Regions from separate parts of the Homo sapiens genome. Here all the other regions are linked to region 1. Evidence: promoter capture Hi-C in human tissues and cell types (Jung and others, 2019). All regions are on one chromosome and are shown on one strand. The core of a region is centred on a gene start or on the middle of the fragment in contact, and the rest is flanking DNA. Distances in the headings are between cores, read along the strand shown.

Region 1 (3,294 bases), core at 558-3,057:
GCACCAGACCCAGGAGATGTCTCAGACCTCTCCTCTACCTCCGCCTCAACCCTTCCCTCTCTGTTAGGAGATCCTCCCCCTCGTCTCTGCGCGCCCCCACCCCGCCATCCCCCGCTAGCGCACACATGCAGGAGAACCCTTTTTAGGCTAAACCGGAAAGTTTAGGTCTTCTCCCCTCTTCTTTTGCTTGTGCAAATAGCACTAAGCTAAACGGAAAGTGGTGGGGTTTTGGTGATGAAATAAGAGTCCACGCACAGAAGCTTGCCTTTTATTACCGCTTCGCTCGAGGCGAAATCGCTGAAAGTTCGGCTATTTAACTCCTGTCCCCATAACTCGGAATCCCGGACACCAGCGGCCCCAGCTGCTGGCGCGCGGCTCTCTTCCAGTCCCCTGGATCCCAAAGCTCCCTGCCACAGCGCGGCGTCTCCTCCTCCTGTCAACTTCCCTCCTTGCACTGTGACGGAGGCAAAGCAACTCAGCCCAGGAGGTTGAACTCGAGTCATCAGAGAAGGAGAAACAGTGCCGAAAACGGCCCGTGCGCTACCAGGGTAGCCCATTAACGCATTAACTCCAGGCTCGTTGGGCAGAAGCCGGGAGGAAACACCCTGGGGACCGCACTCCTGGTTAAATGCCCAGCACGAGTCAAATCCGGCCTTTCCAAAGCGAGCCAAGCCCACTACTACAAAGAGATCCCCCGAGTGTTTTGCCTTAACCACATTTCAGACAGCCAGCTTTGTGGCTGCTGTTTGACTCCAACTTTCCCTCTAAATCTAAAAGGATGCACACTTCCATCAGACGGAACGTCGCGATTCCCCGGCGAAGAAAAAGGCGTCGCCCATTCCTCTTCCAAAACGCTACAACAAAAACCACCACGCTTCCCTTCCTTCTTCCTTGCCCCTTTCCCTTCTCCCAGACCAACAAGGAAAGGAGCGAGCGAGGGCGCAGATGCCCTTTGGTCAAGTACTCCCCGGATGTTCCCGACTAAAGCGTCTCCAAATGAACCTGCAGCCTGCGGAAGCCGGGGACACATTCATAGACGCTCTCTGCTGCCCAGACCAGGAGGGGTGGTGGGGGAACCAGGAAGCCAGGGAGAGAGCAAAGTTCCTGGACGCGTCTCAGGAGGAAAACTTTGTGCAGTGCTGCCAGGCGGAGGCTCGTCAGAAGGCTCCGCAGCTGCTGAGGCGGGGTGGGACTGCGCCCCAGGGGCCGCGCTGAAGCTGGCGCCGCGATTACTGCGCACCGATTTCGCCCACTCTCTGTCCGCTCCCGGGAGCCTTCTCTGTCTCAGGACGGTTCCTTATCTCCCAAACCATGCTCGTCCTCCACTTCGGACCCACAGCCACCCCCAAATCCCGGCTATCCCCGCTTAGCACCGCGGTCTCCAGCACACCCTCCCACTGGAGTAGCAGGTGACCCAAACCAGACTTACCTGCTGTGAACTCTTCTCTCCCTCTCTCTTTTCCTGGTGCCTTTTCAGGGAGAGGGGAACGGGATGCAGGCTGAGGTCCAGCGGCGCGGCAACCCGGGGCACCGGCGCGCGTTCCTCTGAGCCGCAGCCCTGGCTGAGCAAGCGGAGCCGCCGGCAGCCCTGGCAGAGCCGGGAAGCTGCGGCCGCAGGGGCCAGGCCGGGAGGCAGGGGGCGCTGCTGCCTCCCCCGAGAGCCGCGCTAGGACAGGCGGAGAGCAAGGCACCAGCTGGAGCTTTGGGGAGGAGAGGGTGGCGAGGAAAGGCACGCTCCAAACAGGAGGGCGGCTTTTAAGTTTGTGGTGTGACCGCAGCAGCTGTCCTGGGAGAGACTCAGTCTTTCTAAAAAGAGGATGCTGAAAACGCCGGGGATTACCTTTCCCCTTCCGATCTCCTCCCCCAGCCCTCGCCCCCTCCTTCCACTGCGCACGCCAGAACTCCCAAGCGTGCAGAAGTTCATCCCTGCTGCGCGGAGGCTGCCAGCAGCGTGGATTTAGAGGTAGCCCTGGCCAAGCGCTGACGGATGTTTATCAGGACAGGGCACCCTATGTGTAAAGCAACCTCTAACGTCTGATCTTCCTTCTGGGTGACTTGGGGACTTCTTTAGTTCCTTCTCTATACCATAAAACCTGTTAAGGGACCCCATGAGGAAGAAACAGGGAGAGTGACCACAAACACCGTCCTAAAAATGCTAATCCCACAAAACAGTACCTGCGTTCCACTATGTAAAACCTCAATCCACGGTTAATGGCCTTGACAAGGCAGGCATAGGGATGAGGAACAGGGATCAACCCTCCGTTAAGGGGCTGGCACCCGATTAAGACCAAACAGGGAGAGATAAAAACGAGTAGAATGTAATCCTTTCTTCCTCTTTCCCTTACGCCAGACCTACAAAGAGGTGTGCCTCATATCCTTGTCTTCGGGAGTTTTTTAGATTTTTGCACCCCTTATTCACACAGTAGGAACTTAGAAGTATATAATGACGAGAAGATCTAAGTTTTGATGAACCTGGATCCTATGCAATTGGAATAGAGGATCCTCTTTAAGCAAAAGTAATGCAGAAATATCTCACTTCTACAGATTCTGCAAAAATATATGACAATGAGAGTTCATGAGGCCACCGTCAGGGACATTAAAAAGGCCTGTGCATTTGGTGAGCCCTGTACGTTAGGCATTTTTAGCTGCATGGTAAATCCTTTGTGATGGGATATCCAGGTTTATAGTCACACACCTTGCCCTTAGTCCCAAACATAAATCTGACATGAGGTAGAGACATGGAAAGCAAGCAGCCACGGGATCCTGCATTTGTCAGCTTGATTTAAGAGCACAAGGTGTAGGGTCCCAAAGCTTCCTTAGCAAGTAACAAGAGATATCTTGATTTGGAGATGGTGAACAGACAAATGCAGTAATGGAATAACTGAAAGGGGTGGAAGACATTCTTCATTTGACCTTTTATCTGTGGCAGAGGGCTGAGGGCCACAGAAGCTAAAGGAGTCATTTTAAGTTATAAATGGTTGATGGCAGAGTCAGGCTAAGGAAAGGCTCAGGTTTCTCAAATCTGACCAAGGCTCTTTCTTGTGTCTCATGCTGCCCCATCTCTATAACCTTGGTTTGGACTCACAACCAATCAACCCCATAAATACCCTCTTTGGATAGAGAAAAAAATTTTAAATCCTCGTAGACTATTTCAAACTATAGCAACTTTTATTTTTTTTCTGAATGCTTTATATTTAATGTTATACCACTCATTCTGTACATAGTCATGCAATTGTTTATTGTATGTTTCTATGTGTTTATATTATTTTCATTTGTATATGTCATTGCACTTCC
Region 2 (3,294 bases), core at 254-2,753, 81 kb before region 1:
TGACTGACTCATCTAAGAATACCAGGTATCTGCACATGCTGGAAAGACATTGATTACAAGTTTGACACACTCCTGTCCTCATGGAACTCACAGCCTAGTGGAGAGAAAATGTTCATCCACAACAAAAATGAAAATATACTTGTGACAAAGGACAACCATATAACATAGTAGACCATTAAGTATCTCTAATAGTAAAATGGAAATATCTTTTTATCTATATTTCCTTTAGCAAGCCTAATAAAATGAATCTCCTAATTGATAGCCAGATGCTCTGCTATTTAAGGGGAAGGATAAGGATTAGGTAATCTCTGCTCTTATTTGAAATAGTTTTGTTCTAAAAATAATTCTTTGTATCTCCCTTTTAGTGTCCCTTAATACAATTGTTCATTCAGCCTGGGGAAACATTTGACCCGATGGTCTATATTCTTCCTCTTCACCCCAGAAAGGAAGGGAGTGGTGAGTCATATTGAATCTAATAAATTTAGGATTAAGCAACACAGACTTCCTCAGTATTTGAGTGTTAAATGAACAAGATCCTATAACCTTGAAATCTTGCATTTATTGCCAGAGATCCCGAACTGGGTGGAGTTGTCAGTTTCTCTCACGAGAAGACTACATAGATTAAAAAAAAAAGAAAAGAAAAGAAAAGAAAAAAAATGCTTCCCACATCCTTTAAAGAACATTTTATGAAAGACAGAAATTCATGGGGCTAAAAAGAAAATCAGCTTTGGAGAAGCTTAACTTCCAATGTATTCCAATCTAGGGAGTAAAATTCCTCAGCAGAGAAACTTCACAACTAAAAATAGATCCAGATCAAAATACAGTCACCTTTCCCTGCCATCTCAGGATATTCAGCACAAATTATTGCCCTGCCCACTTTTCTTTTTCCTTCAGGAAATAGCAGTTTTATCAGTAGGGCTATTCTCATGTTTCTTTAGTATAGTCAGATCTCCAATGTATTCTCTACAAAGCTGTGTAAGTAAAAACGTTTCTCTTTAAGCCTTTCAGCATCCTTTCTATTTCTGCCTTCCCCCTAAATTCAGCATTTCTCCTCTGATCTCTAAAGTTCCAGGGCTTTTTATGCTGAGTTAGTATCAGAGCATCATTTCTATGGAGTGCCTTCAAAGCTTCTGCCCATAACTTCCAGAAATACTACAGCTTTTTGTCCAAGGCAAGGCATGGATTCTCTCTTAGATTTAACATTGGGAAAATTAGCTCATCTTAACTTGGCATCAGCTGACCTCCAATATGCTTTCTGAGGCTTGAGATCATGTGAAAACGTTCTGTTTATCAAGATAACTCATAATTCCCCTTTAGCAACACAAAAATACCTATGATTCTCCACTGTGTACATTTAGTCTCTAAAGCTAATTGTTCAAAGCATATAAAGAAAAAATATTAGTCAAATCTAAAAGCCCTACAAAAGACTGCTTCAAAATTGCAGGTGAATATTATGTTATTATTATGCTCTCTTAGATATCATTAAGCTATCCACACTAACCATTATTTCCTTGCAAATGCAAGTCCAAATCAGAAAGAACACAAACAAATCAAATTCTCTTGCTTTTCTGTGATGGAATGTTATAGATCATTCTGTTCATTGGTCTTAGAACATTACCTATATCAATAATAAAACAGATGATATCACATAGGGAAACATAAATTAGAAACAAATTAAGCTTATTATGTCATGGGGTCTGTGTTCTTGCCAAGACAGGTTGTGGAGTAGGAGTGTGGCAATTACTCATGGTCACATTTCTATCACATCCATACTTTTAAATTACATTTTGTTCTTATTTGGCCAGCTTTCAATAGTGGATGCTTTATATAATCCATCATTGTGAGATTTATCATTTATAGTTACGGAGTAAATTCATACTTTGAATGAGTCCTTTTAAATTTTCAAAAGCTTTGCTGGGATCTTTTTTCCTATTGACCTGTAAAAAAGTTAGTATTATAAATATCTAGTACATTTCCAGAAAAGCAATGTCACGATGGAATAAACTTCCTGGAAAAAAGTTGAGAGTATCATTCTGAGCACGATTGATACTACTTTTACAATTGCTTCATAGCTTCCTTCAAGTTATTCAGAATTTCTCCTTCTTCAAGTTACAAAGAATGTTTAAAATTAAACGCCATGTCACACATATTTGGTATTTGTTTCAATCAAGTATATAAATTTAATGTAGAAAACATCGGAAGGTCTTAACTTAATACAACATCTATTATTGACTCCAAGTAATAGACAAATACGACAATATGACAAGACAAATAATTCCTCAAACTAAGATCACTATAAATTAAGGAATAAAGCAAAAAGTTATGTGTGTAATATAAAACAGATAACATTATTTTATAACAATATTGTTTTATAAAATTAATTCTATTAAAATCAAGTATATGTATATCAAAAAATAATGTTAAAAGGCATATGTGAAACTTCTCAATTGTGACAGTCACAGCTGAGATGTCTCATGCCATCTGTAGTAGTCTGTCCTCAAACTGCTGTGAAGAAATACCCGAGTCTGGGCAATTTATAAAGAAAAACTGGTTTAATTAACTCACAGTTCCGTATGGCTGGGGAGGCCTCAGGAAACTTACAATCATGGTGGAAGCCACCTCTTCACAGGGCAGCAGGATGAAAAATGAGTGCAAGCAGGGGAAATGCCAGATGCTTATAAAACCATCAGACCTCATGACAACTCACTCACTAAGAGGAGAAAAGCATGGGGGAAACCGCCCTCATGATTCAATTACCTCCCACCAGATCCCTCACAGGACACGTGGGGATTACGGGAACTACAATTCAAGGTGAGGTTTGGGTGGCAACACAGTCACACCATATCACCATTTGTATTTCCAAGACTTTGAATGTGTCTTCTCTTTTTCTTGGAAGCTGTTCAAATCACACCCTCTCTCGGTATTATGAAATTTAAAATAATTTGCCAGAATATATATATGTGTGTGTATATATGTGTAAAACTGATCATTGATCATTGCTCATACTGGGCACTCAGTGTGACATTTTATCTAAAATTCAATTTTCATAGATTCAAGAAAATTTCAGTTTGGCTTTTCATCTAAAACAAATAAATGTCAATCATCTGTGAGACTTTTCTCTAGGTTTTCTCCAGATGAAAGTTCTTAATCACTTGCCCAAGGAGCATCATCTGGTAAAGGTGTGCAGAGAATTTGCATCAGAACTTGCACATACACTTTCAAGAGGGAAATTTAAAAATATCATCATGTAATATTGTTCTCTTCGATTTCAGGTACTATTCAGCAGGTATAAGC
Region 3 (3,294 bases), core at 368-2,867, 78 kb after region 1:
TCCCCAAGTCATCCAAAGTACTCCTTAGATATACAGAGAAATATCATAAAGCAATGATTCACAAAACAGAGAAAATACTCAGTATCAAATTAAAACCTATAAGGAGCAAATGGTTCCTTAGAAATATGTTAATTAAGACAATAATAATTAAACAACCATGAGGTAACAATTTTTCATTAATGAAATTGCCAAAGGAAACAAAATTCCATACTGTTGGTGAGAGTCTAATTAGACAGCCCTTGTAAAAAGCAATTTGCTAATATGAAACAGACATTAAAATATTTGTATTCTTAACCAAGTGATTCCAAAAGTGGTAGCTCCATCCTAAAAAAAGAGAAAAAGCTACACTATCATAATATTAATTACAATGTTAATTATTTTATGAGGGAAATGGAAATTAAACTAGGCATGATGGCTTACACCTGTAATTTCAGTACTTTGAGAGGCTGAGGTAGGAGGATCCCTTGAGCCCAGGAGTTTGAGACCAGCCTGGGCAATATAGTGAGACCCCATCTCACAAAAATAGAAAGAAAATAAAAATTAACTTTAAGGCCCAAGATTGAAGGTGACTAAGTATGTTGCCCAGGAGTTTGAGACTAGTCTGGGCAATATAATGGGCAATATAATGGGACCTAATCTCTAAAATTATATAGATATTTAAAAATTAGCCCAGCAAGTTGGTGTGCACCTGTAGTCTCAGCTACTTGGGAGGCCAAGGTGGGAGGATCACTTGAGCCCAGGAGGCAGATGTTGCAGTAAGATGAGATTATACCCCTGCACTCCAGCCTGGGGGCAGAGCCACACCCTGTCTCAAAAAATAAAATAAAACAAAATAAAAGTAATGCAATGAATCAATTCTTTACTTTCTCAAAGTTATGACAGGTGGTAATGGTACATGTTTAATAAGAATAAATATTAAACAAAACAAAATATAAGCATAATTAGTAGAATGCAAATTTAAGGAATTAATTAACAGCATTTAATACTCAGTCATAAATGAATAATGACTATGATTAAGTAAAACATATCTATGATGATGTGATAGCATTTAATCATCACTTATTTGATTTAACAAATTTTACATCCTTTTGTCAAATTCTGAAAATAGCTAATTTTACAATGTATTCCTTTGTTTTGAATTGAATGGGGAGAATAGAGCTAAACAGACTTCATCATCAACTTTTAAATTATATGTCCCTTTTATTTTTAATTATTTCTATTCAATCTCTCACTTTTTCTCTTCCTCTGCCTTTACTTGTTTATTCTCTGTAGTCTGTAGTATAGTTCTGAAAGACTGTTACCTTCACACTACACAGGTAAAGAAATTATTATACTCCTTTAGACAATACTCAAATACCACCAAATATTGTCAATAAAATATTACTTAAGAGCTTAAGTGTGTTTCTATTTTTGTTAATTAGTTTCTTTGTCTTGTAGTTTAGCTGGAAATGTTAGCTTTCTTACAAAGGTGAATAATGAGAATCAATAATATGTTCTACTAAAATACATATTCTAATCCATAATCTATTATATCTTCACTTATAAGACTTGATATTTTGCAAACATGCATGAGGGAATATTTTTACCAAAAAAAATGCTTACTGCTGGGAAATACAGTAAATGCTATCCCTGTTGTTAATGTCTGCATTTTAATTTTGTATATATACATCAGATTTATGTTTTTGTTTCATAGGGATCTCTAGCAAGATGGAAAACAGCAACAATAATCAGATAATATCAATAATTGTGTTTATATTCACTAATATCAAGATATCTAACTGCTCTTTCAAAGTCCTTTGAGAACTCCCTCAAGGCTTCAGAAAGTTCACATTTTTTTGCTTTGTTGAACTGTGGCAGGTTACTGGCCATAATAAGGACCCAGTGTAGAATTCAGGGATCTACTCCTAATTCTCAGGAGTACATTTCACATCATACCCTATTTACCTAAGTCTCATCTCTCTGGATCACAAGCCAAAGTATCAAAGAGTGAGATTTAGTTTATAAGCATCTTTGAAATACATACTCGTGTTGAGTCATTATCTTCACAGACCTACAGAATGTAGGAGTTAAAGATTATCGAGATCAATCTACCATTCAACAGACAAAAAAATTAAAACTCAGAAGAGGTGAAGCTTGCTGCTTTTTTAATTAAAAGCTATAAATTTTTTTTGAAAAGAAATGTTTTATTTTTAAAAGAAAACATTAGTATTGTTCTCCAAATATTTTTTCCTAAATATACATATATATATGTATCTAAATAAGTGATATAAACCACTTGAAAGATAACTATTTCTCACATAAATAATTTAAAAGGGAGCACAAGGGTCAACCATCTATTTTTTTTAGTTCTCAGAGTTAATGGCTTAATGGGTTATCATATTTATGATTGTAGTCAGCATCTTTTTGTTTTTTTTTTTTAGATCTATCCATTATCTATTATCCATCCATTCTCCAAACTTATTCATCCCAGTTAGATTCAGTCTTGGCAGAGGGTTTGTCATGCCTCTAAAGCTAAGCCAATTTGACTCTTTTTGGAATTTAATTCTCATGTTATTATCTTGGTAAGAGGCCATAATTTTTTTCTCCTCAGGTGCTGACTTCTTTACCTCACCACAACTTTATATTGAGTAGTAAGTAAGTCATGCATTACTTTCTGTGGAGTGTCACTTCTCAATTCCCTAGGAAATCTCTTTCTATGGTACTTTAAACATCTCACTTTAGCCCCAGCTATTAACAGTAACTGTTAATTTGTAGTTATTGTAACTGTGATGTTTCTTCACATTTTCATGAGTCAACGCAAATTTTCACTAAATAATATATTTATGTTAATACATCTCAATTCATTGATTTTTTTCAATTTTCAGAAATGTTTTCTCCAATGTGAGACTTAAATATTCACTTCAGGTGTGAATTTACTAACACCTGCTTATGATGCTTATGTTTAGTTAATTCAGAAAATGTTAATGATTCATAAACTGGCATAATTTTAAATACTTGTAAGGTGTTGATAAAAATAATCTTTATTAAGTATTTTAATATTCAGCTCCTCAAAAGTAAATACGTGAAAGGAAGTCAAGATGGTTAAATAGATGGAGCTAGTAATACCCTCTTCCACAAAAAGGGAACAAAATAGCAAGTATATAACCATACTTAGAATAGATCATATCAGAGAGAACACTGGAACTCAACAGAGAAGTGACCAGAAGCAACAAAAGCCAGGGAGGAGAGGAAAACAAAGCAGCCTGTTTGGCCAGGATCAGCTGGGAGTCTGAGCATCTTCCTAAATTGGGAAAC

The links. The method cuts DNA at HindIII sites, captures the fragments that hold promoters and counts their contacts. A contact is called where the count stands out against the background at its distance.
Region 2: a contact is called between a fragment that was not itself captured here and the fragment with the promoter of SEMA3D in region 1, in 8 of the 25 tissues and cell types used here (H1 embryonic stem cells, adrenal gland, aorta and 5 more).
Region 3: a contact is called between a fragment that was not itself captured here and the fragment with the promoter of SEMA3D in region 1, in 4 of the 25 tissues and cell types used here (H1 embryonic stem cells, adrenal gland, mesendoderm cells and 1 more).

Annotation. Positions count from the first base shown.
Region 1 is chr7:85,185,249-85,188,542 of GRCh38, forward strand. SEMA3D (semaphorin 3D) reads right to left here and starts at 1,808. Exons shown (of 19, transcript NM_001384900.1): 1 at 1,430-1,808. RefSeq lists a silencer at 1,620-1,679. The HindIII fragment of the contact is 9,968 bases long and covers 1-3,294 here.
Region 2 is chr7:85,104,156-85,107,449 of GRCh38, forward strand. All of the region lies in intron 3 of SEMA3D (semaphorin 3D), which reads right to left. Among named protein-coding and RNA genes, the nearest start is that of SEMA3D, 81 kb to the right of the region's middle. The HindIII fragment of the contact is 3,004 bases long and covers 2-3,005 here.
Region 3 is chr7:85,263,634-85,266,927 of GRCh38, forward strand. No RefSeq gene overlaps it. Among named protein-coding and RNA genes, the nearest start is that of SEMA3D, 78 kb to the left of the region's middle. The HindIII fragment of the contact is 6,336 bases long and covers 1-3,294 here.